Regions from separate parts of the Homo sapiens genome. Here regions 1 and 2 are each linked to region 3. Evidence: promoter capture Hi-C in 16 types of primary human blood cells and fetal thymus (Javierre and others, 2016). All regions are on one chromosome and are shown on one strand. Each heading gives the region's core, a stretch centred on a gene start or on the middle of the fragment in contact. The rest is flanking DNA. Distances are from core to core; before and after follow the strand shown.

Region 1 (3,429 bases), core at 668-3,167, 240 kb before region 3:
TAGCGTATGGGGATAATAGTAACAGAGGGGAAGAAGTAAGTAGAAAGGATACTATAGGTTGGAATAATATGGTGACAGATCCAAAGACAAAGATTAGCTATCAAGGCCACTGTATTTCTTTTTCACTTTCAGTCCATGTGAACCATGGGTCAGAAATGATTTTGTGCAGTGCAGTGAATGTGAACAATGAGTCCACCAAAGAAAAAAAAAAAGATTTTTTTTTTTTTTTTAAAGAGACAGGGTCTTGCACTGTCACCCAGGCTGGAGTACAGTGGTGCAGTCATAGCTAACTGTAACCTCAAATCCCTAGGCTCAGGTGATCCTCCTGCCTCAGCCTCCAGAGTAGCTATGCCTACAGGCACATACCACCACACCCAGATAATTTTTTAATTTTTTTATATTTTGTAGAGATGGGGTCCCCACTACTAAAAAAAGTGTTATGTTTATAGGTCTTTTTTTTTCTTTTTTTTCCCCTACATGAAGACCTATCTGGACTGTGTTAAAAGAGGAGGAGGAGGGCTACAAAGGCAACAAGGAGGGGAAGAGGACAGGGAGGATGAGGGGGAAGAGATGGGAAAAATGCCTCCACAGGGTTGCCTGTGAATTGTAGTTCTGAAGCCAGTGCAATTGGGCAACTTTAGGATGAGGAGCGAGACTGACATCTAAGAAAAGGATGCCATGGGAAATGAACGAAGGAGGAAGGCACAATGGGGCCAGGTCACTGGGGTTCCTGAATGCTAATGTAGGGAGTCTGCCATTTCTCTGGCTGGAGGAAGAAACCCTATACTGTTTAAGCAAAAAAGTACAAATACTGGTTACCAATCCACTTAAATGAAATACATTTAGCACACAAGATACACCAGGGATAAATCACAATGAGCAGTAGTCAGAGTCCATTGCTGGGCTGTGGCCATATCCAGTCCTTAGCTCTTCCTATCCTAGTGACTGCTGCCTTAAGGTCTTAGTATCTCAGTTAAACCAAGAGATCACAGAAGTCAAATTTGGCTTGTTAGCACAACTCCCAGAGGAGATTTCTTTCCTACCTCTACCAAAAAACGTTTATGAAATGCATATATTAAAGTGATTTAACCTTTAATTAACTCTTCTGTTTTACATATTTAAAATTATGTTTATTTGCAGATTTCAGAGTACCAAAGAACTGTCTTTTCATATTCCTTGTAAAAATAAAAGCTAAATAAAACTGATTATATAATTCAAGTACTTTTATACTATGAGAAAAACAGACTGTCAATTAATTTTATATCTTGTATTTGCTGTTTGTCACATATTCCTTTCTATGTAACAAAAACAAAACTCCCTGTCCAAATGTGTCATATCCAAAATATGACTCTGACCTTTAGGCTTCCTAACTTGTTTCAAAAGAATACAATGTTCGTGCCTGGAAATACATGGATCATCCTTGAATGATATAACTTTAAAGACCATGATCTTTAAAAAAAAAAAAAAAAAAAGCTTTCAAATTCAGCACAGGCATTTATACTGATCTGGAGTAATAAAAATATTAAGACTATACCTGACACTATATTATATATTCATATCTTTACTGTGTATCTATCCCATTCAAGTGCAAGCTCATGAGTTTATTGCCTAAAACAGTGCCAGCACACAGTAGGCATTCTAATACTCATTGAATGAATAAACATTCCTAACTTATTATCTGAAGTATTCTCACTTGACTGAAAAACATTTGCACATGACAATTCAGTACCCTTATCAAATCACCCCATGCCTCTACTAAAAGTGCACAATTATTACATGTTGGAATGCAGGCTTGGGGGCTTAGAGGAGAAATAAAGTGGAATAAGGGACTGAAGTAGCTGAATGGCAGGCAAACTACATTTACAGCTAAAGGTCAATATTAACACAATTTCCATTCAGCTCCATTTTGCTAACAAGATTTTATATCTTGGATAAGCATACAAAGGTAAAAAATAGAGGAGATAACAGATAGGTACAGGGCAGGAAAGCCCCAGGCAACTGAAAGAAGTATAATGAAATTACAGGAATTTAATTTATGTGGGCTAAAATTCTAGACACAGCATCTTAAAGTAACTGAAACACGAAGGCACAGTAAGCAAAGAATAAGGAATACAGACTTTGCAGAAATAAAAGAGCTTACCTGCTTTAGAACTTCAACTAAAACTAAACAAAAAATGAAGTCTACTGCTAAGTCCCTCCTTTCAAGAAGATAATCTCTTTCACGTTGCTGTTCATCCCTGAAACAAGAATCCAAAATTAGTACTGCATTAAGATTATGACTTTAAAAATACCTGTTAGTTAGTAGCTCATGTCGCTTACTGTTTTCCTACTATGTAAAATGTGCTACAGCAATTGTTAATATGAAGCTTTTTGTTTTTTATTTTTGTCTTTTTGGTTTGAGACAGGGTCTCGTTCTGTCACCCAGGCTGGAGTGCAATGCTGCAAACATGGCCCACCGCAGCTTCAACCTCCTGGGTTCATGTGATCCTCCCACCCCAAGTAGCTAGACTACAGGCAAGCGCCACCATGCCCAGCTAATTTTATTTTTTCTAGAGAAGGGATCTCCCTATATTGCCCAGACTGGTCTCAAATTCCTGGGTTCAAGTGATCCTCCTGCCTGAGCCTCCTAAAGCAGATTACAAGCATAAGTCACAGTGCCTGGTCTGAAGCTTTTTAATAATCCAACATATGCAAAAACATGTTTTTATGTTCTTTCCCTTTTTATATACGGGGTGTTTATTCAGAGTTCACTATTATATCTGTTAGCATTTAAACTTAACCTAAAAGAATTAGTAAGAAGAAGAAAAGTATTTTAAATTTCATTTAGAAAATGTAGCATTGTTCCATATTTGATTACTAGTATTTTGTTAAGAACTGAAACAAAAGTATTAACTTTTCAACATGAAAATACAGTACAAGGTATCCTTCTCACAAATTTAAGTTGAAAAATCACAAGTGGCATCTACTGAAGTCCAACACTAAACCATGGACAATCACCTGAACACACGTGGCTCTTACATGCATGACAAGATCATCCTGGGAAATTTGAAGGAGAAGAAAACAAGTTCTAGGAATTGAGCTCCAAGAACAGTATCATAGTACTATTATAACACAGGGTTTTGGCAGTCTTCCTGTATTACAATAATTGCCTCCCTTCATAAACCATATGAACAGGAACTTCTTTGAATATTTTCTTAACTTTATGACTATTAAAAGCTCCTCACTGAACTGCTGAAATGGCACTCCTAAATAGGTTTTTGTATTACTAATTTTTGCATGATACCCAGTATGAGTACTGTAGGGCTACATCTAGTTTAACTGGTACCTTCTCTTGATTTACAGTTTATGTGTGAACTATCCTTCTCCCTTACTACCATCTTTGTAACAAAAGTAATCAACGCAGTTTGCTTAGGAATCAAACAATAACAA
Region 2 (3,071 bases), core at 456-2,955, 160 kb before region 3:
GAGAACACTAGGACAAATAGCTAATGCATGTGGGGCTTAAAACCTAAATGATGGGGGGATAGGTGCAGGACACCATTATGGCACACGTATACCTATACAACAAACCTACACGTTCTGCACTTGTATCCCGGAACTTAAAGTATAATAAAATATATATATACATAATCAAATTAAATTACTAACTTTTAGTTTCAATGGTATTATTTTTCTCCTGCCTGCTTAATGATACTATTATTAAGCAAGAAAATAAGAAAAAAAAAACATAAGCCCAGTATAAAAGAAAAATAACGATAAGAGATCTATCTATCTATCTATCTATCTATCTATCTATCTATCTATCTATCTATCACTTTCACAAGTCAACCATGATCAACAGCACTCTTAAATCCATCAGGTTTTGGCTCAAACAATCTCTGCTTTTGTCTTAAAATGAATAATTTTTCTCCAAAAAAAGTCAATTACAAGGTTTTTTCCTATATGCATCAAATTTCAATAAACTATTATGGTGTAACTGAAGAAGAAGAATAAAGGAAGCTACATCGAAGACTTGGAATTTTAAACCACAATAAAACCTTGTACACTAAGGATAATAAGGTCAATTCCTATATTTTTATATACTATAAAATACCATATGATACAGTAAAAGACATTTCTTATAACAGCCTGAAAATTATGACTCTTACTTTCTTTCCATTTTTACCTAAATTTTACCTAAAATTTCCATTCTTTTGAGGTTTTGACTTATTTGGAAAAAATCTAGAATTTTACCAAAATTAATATAATTTCAGATTTGTAAACAAGGGAAATGTTTACAAACTTTTTTTACTTCAAAAAATAATGTATTTTTACAGGTGCCAATTTTAAATCTCCAGCTCTAGTTTACATTTCTCACCTTTCTTGGATTTCTCAATGTTGATTATAAACTAACTAAAATGAAGCATACTTCTATTTTTATTTTTTGGGATGGAGTCTCACTCTGTCCCCCAGGCTGCGGTGTCTCAGCTTACTGCAACCTCTGCCTCCTGGGTTCAAGCAATTCTCCTGCCTCAGTCTCCTGAGTAGCTGGGATTACAGGTGCACGCCACCACACCCGACTAATTTTGTATTTTTAGTAGAGATGGGGTTTCACTATGCTGGTCACGCTGGTCTTAAACTCCTGACCTCAGGTGATCCACCCGCATGGGCCTCGCATGAGCCACCATGTCTGGCCCTAAAATGAAGCATACTTTTAAAAAGCTTCATAGAGAAGTACTTAAAGAAAAAAATGAAATAGAGAATTTGCATTGGCAAAGAAGAAATAAGAATGGTAATGATGAGGATAGTACAGAATGGGAATAGCATCTCTGGAGACTTTTCATTAAAGACCTGTTAGTGATCAAGTTGAAGGATACAATTGAACCAATTGATGTTGAGGCATTTCCACAGGCACAGGGAGACCTGCATTTAACATTTACTGGGGATCAACCTAAGCTCCAGGAATCTATACTCAGTGGCACTTACACACACAGCTGCTACCATCAAGGAGTTTACAGACAAGCTGGAAAGGAGACATGGGCAGTAGCATGTTTCAAGTGCTTTGAGAGAAGTTACCTAAATATGTTCAAGCTGCAACCAGGTACAAAGGAGACAGTCATCAACCTGAGTGGAGAAGGGAACAGGAAAGACTTCACTGAAGAAGTGGTGCTCACAGCTCCTGTTACCAGAAGACTTACTATAGCCACAATCTGTAACTACGCGAATGGGTTCTTGCCTCTCTTTGAGAAGCTAGCTAACTGATGACTTTTAAAAAGCTACATAAGTAACATATTCAGGTGTTAATAAACAAGATGTTTTTCCTGTAAGCCTCCCTGCCACAATTTCTCAATGTGACGTGATGGGCTCCAAAGCTGGATGCTATCACACACCCTCTGAGTTACACAACAGCTCCTGGCTCTGTCCCAAAAGTGGTTATCTTGGTATTGCCTCCTCCCCATGTTTGTGAAAGAAAATACTGTGCTGGGTGAGATTTACACTGATTGACAGTTCCTCTCGCTCTAGAAATGTATAAAGCATAATAAGCAGTTTATTCAGATCAACATCCTCTGTAGAGAAAATAACACATTTCCAAGTTAGTAACAAAACAACATTCCAAATTAGTTTGGTCACTATGGATGACCATATAGAACATGCCACCACAAAGCTTAATCCTTCACATTCCAGTACACATCCTGTAACTCTGAAAAAACATGCATATAAGAGTCAGTAGGCACCACCCCCACCCCAACCCCCACAAATAGGCTTTATTCTCCACAGTGGTTAAGTCAGTCTAAACAAGTAACAAATATAGGAGGGTAGAATTCAGAATTGGTTCACTGCACTCTAACAAATGGTGCCCTAGAAATCCAAGTTAATTAAATACCCATAACAACAGCAGCAACGACTAATTACCGAGAGCCTACTATGTGTGACCATCTAAGATGCTTCACATATGTTACTTCATTTTAACCCAAACCAGCCCATAATTTCAGTAAATGTTCAACTTTACAAATGTGGAAACTGACAAAGCTAATAAATGAACTGAAAAGTACTGTACCTCTGGATTATATTTTAAAGTATAAGCTGTTATATGGAGTTGAGATAAAATTCTCAAATTAAAATGCAATTATTTTCAATGGCTGTTTGGAAGATAAAATGCAATTATGATTTCAATATGTCCTTATATTGATTCTGAACCTCAGAACAGAAAAAGCTAGAGAACTCTCAAAAAGGATAACTAAACATAATTAACACATCATTTGCTTTAAATATTTCATGAAAACATAAGAGTTTGCCCTATCAAAAGTAAAAAATAGTGGGGGATGGGAAAGAGATCATACTGTGACCAACAAATCACAGAGATGCTTATTTGAAGACTAAATTCAATCCTCATCTGTTAATATCTTACTATTTAAAGTTCAATGAACAACTTCATAAAGGAAAGAGATTGTCCTTTGTTTCAGCCAAGATTTTTAAATCTTTAATCTAAAATACATGCTTCTCAAAGATGGATGCTAACAATTTAAACAAGGTGCTAATTCAATCAGTTGCACAAT
Region 3 (2,992 bases), core at 212-2,711:
ACTGTGCCTGACCTTTCTTGTACATTTGTGAATTTGAAAGAGTTATATGCCAGCTTCTAAGGCATTTCTTAAAGATGAATTTTTAAATCCTGGTTTCTTTTAAGTCTTTTTGGAATAGCTATACATTAGCCAAAGTAAATTTTTTGATACAAGTTTACCTCTAAAGGAAGAGGACATTCGAATAGGGTTTTATAGCTATTTCAGTATAGGGTTTTATGATTTTCTCTTAAGGAATTTCAGAGTATGTGTCATTGTTTCAAGATTTTCTATTTACTACTTTAAAAATGGAAATAATAGGTCTTTGGTACCTTCTTGAAGGTCATATGCCACAAAGAATGCAAAAATACATGAAAGTCCTTAGTATTTGTTGTTATGGTCATTTTTTAGAGCTAATTTTATTTTTAATCATTAGCGGTTGCTTCGTTTGGAGTTCTGTTTTTATAACAATGATAGATAATATCTGCATCATATTATTGATGTAAAAAAAATCTACCTTTGAAATGAATTAGGGATGTACCATACTTTTGAATGTTTGTCATCAAACAACATTTAGCATAAACTGCATCTAGTGGCCATTGCTCTGTAATATGTAAAGACTTGTCGGTACTTTGTCCTGCTAATTAATTTGAGGATTTAGATTGTAAGCTCTGTGAGGGCAGAAAGTAATATTTTTCTCATTTTTGTAATCTTTTCTATTATTGTCTGCATAGCATAGTACTTTACACTGTATCAGAAATTGAGTATTTTGGTTTAGGCTTCTATGGTAATAGAGGTTAAGAAAGGAAATTTGGTAGACCTTTAACATTTGCTGGATTTTGACATTTTTGATTTTTGACTGAAGTCTTCAAGTTCTGTTACATGACACAAGAATGTGAAATGATTTTTTCTTTTTTTGGGAAAAGCTGGTTTTTTGTGTGCTTTATATAATTTAAAGAAAAGACTTGTTATGAAATAGTTTCAGTCATTTTCTGAATTATTGTTGAAATTAGTACAGGGTAGATTCACATGGTCAGAAAGTGTCACTTAAAGTTTTCACCTTTAGCTTATGTGGTTGATATTTATCTAATTAGAAATTAAGACCCAGAAATTTAAAAAATTCAAGCACATATTCCATTAGCTGCCAGAGCAATGTCACCACACATCCTGTAGCTTCTAGAAAACCATGTAACATATACTCATGAGGGAATGAGAGCAAGGGGAAAAGGCAAAATGTGAAACATAAGGATATATAATGTCTTAGTATAATAATGAAATAATTTTGACTTCATGTATTCCCTGAAGAGTCCACACTGTGATAACTGCTGCTTTATATTGTTATGATTACTCACAGACAGAAGCTATGTGGAAGAGAAGCAAAAAAGTAAAGGAGTAGAATAGACAGCGGAGCATGTTTTAAAATGTAAAATATAGAGTACCTGTAAAATGTAGTAGTATTTTCTTCTTATAGTAGTATTTACAGCCCTGAGAGAGAAGATTGAATTAATTACAACTTGAACACTTGACCATTTCTACTGCTGTATTTTTTGTGAAAAACGAAAATTCAAATGTTTGTTTTATTATTTCCCACTATTTTTTTTTTTTTTTGTATATGGCTTAATATGTGCCACACTTAGGTAGTATGGTAAAGATGTAAAGGTACCTAGGCTTTGGATCTAAACAGACCTATACTCAAATCTCAGTTCTTGTTAGGGCTTGTACCTTGGGCAAGTTACTAATCTTTTTTCTCACCATTAAAATGAGAATTGTGTTTAGAAGTTTGTTATGAGGACTAACTATTTATGTAAAATTCTAGATACAATGCATTTGTCCAACCCCAAGTTCACAAAAGTCTGGTCATCCCCTTTTTGTAATTATAATTTGACTCTCATGTGCTTTTATTCAAATGAGAGAGAAACATAACTTTTCATCATAGCAACAAACTTAAAATAATGTCTTTTACTTATTATTGCTTGGAATCATCAATTATTTATGCTTTTTTCCTAGTCAAAGTAAACAAGTATGGAGATACTTGGGATGAGTGAAAAATTACATCATTGGACATGAAGGAGTTTCAACATCCAGCTTCATCTAGGTGGTCATGATTACCTGCATGCTTTGAGCTCAGCAGCAGTCTTCATAAACACATTTAAAACAAGATCCTGGGTTTTTGTGGTTTGACTTCTATGGTGTTTTAAAAAAACACAGATTTTTAGTGTTAATATTGTGTAAATGTACTCACCTTAGGGATTCATTTGAATGATGGTATTATACCATGATTGTATACAGTTTGTGAAATTGTTGCAAGGGCAAAGATAACTCTTAAAAAACCGTCGAGATTACAATGCTCTAGAATCAGCATATAAGAAAATAAATGATATCTGCATGTTGAATTGGGGTGGATGGGGGGAGCAAGCATAATTTTTAAGTGTGAAGCTTTGCATCAAGAAATTATTAAAAAGCTTTTTTTCTCCAGTATTTTCTGTATTATCTTAATGTTTATGGCAAATAAAATGTAAAGGAACATGCAACAGCCCTCATCTTCCTTGATTTTATGGTTTTATTGTTTGTAATTTATTGATTTATTTTTAAGCTAGTTATAATCATGTAGGTATAGGAAATAAAGTCATCTATAATATTTCTATAATATGGCTATAATATGGCTATAAATCTATAATATGGCTGGAGGCAGTGGGCAGTGGTTCATGCCTGTAATCCCAGCACTTTGGGAGGCCGAAGTGGGAGGATTGCATGAGTCCAGGAGTTTGAGACCAGCCTGGGCAACAAAGCGAGACCCTGTCTTTACAAAAAAATAAAAATTAGCTGGCGATGGTGTCGTGTGCCTGTAGTCCTAGTTACTTAAGAGGCTGAGTTGGGAGGATCAGTTGAACCCAGTGGTTCTGGGTTGCAGTGAGCTGTGGTCACACCACTGAACTCCAGCCTGTGCGACTGAGTGAGACCCTGTGTCTAAAAAAATAAAAATATAATGAATGTGATTTATGTAGATAAATTGATA

Evidence for each region. The method cuts DNA at HindIII sites, captures the fragments that hold promoters and counts their contacts. A CHiCAGO score of 5 or more calls a contact.
Region 1: a contact is called between a fragment that was not itself captured here and the fragment with the promoter of OCIAD1-AS1 in region 3, in 9 of 17 cell types (naive CD4 T cells, naive CD8 T cells, naive B cells and 6 more). The highest score is 8.0, in naive CD4 T cells.
Region 2: a fragment that was not itself captured here is called in contact with the fragment with the promoter of OCIAD1-AS1 in region 3 in 1 of 17 cell types (endothelial precursors); the score reaches 5.1 in endothelial precursors.

What each region holds. Positions count from the first base shown.
Region 1 is chr4:48,617,134-48,620,562 of GRCh38, forward strand. It overlaps FRYL (FRY like transcription coactivator), which reads right to left. Exons shown (of 64, transcript NM_015030.2): 7 at 2,141-2,237. Among named protein-coding and RNA genes, the nearest start is that of ZAR1, 130 kb to the left of the region's middle. The HindIII fragment of the contact is 893 bases long and covers 1,472-2,364 here.
Region 2 is chr4:48,696,549-48,699,619 of GRCh38, forward strand. The region is part of intron 2 of FRYL (FRY like transcription coactivator); the gene reads right to left. Among named protein-coding and RNA genes, the nearest start is that of FRYL, 82 kb to the right of the region's middle. The HindIII fragment of the contact is 943 bases long and covers 1,235-2,177 here.
Region 3 is chr4:48,858,742-48,861,733 of GRCh38, forward strand. OCIAD1-AS1 (OCIAD1 antisense RNA 1) reads right to left here and starts at 1,462. Exons shown (of 2, transcript NR_146806.1): 1 at 1,416-1,462. OCIAD1 (OCIA domain containing 1) reads left to right here. Exons shown (of 9, transcript NM_017830.4): 9 at 1,984-2,992. The coding sequence ends at 2,021. The HindIII fragment of the contact is 4,141 bases long and covers 1-2,410 here.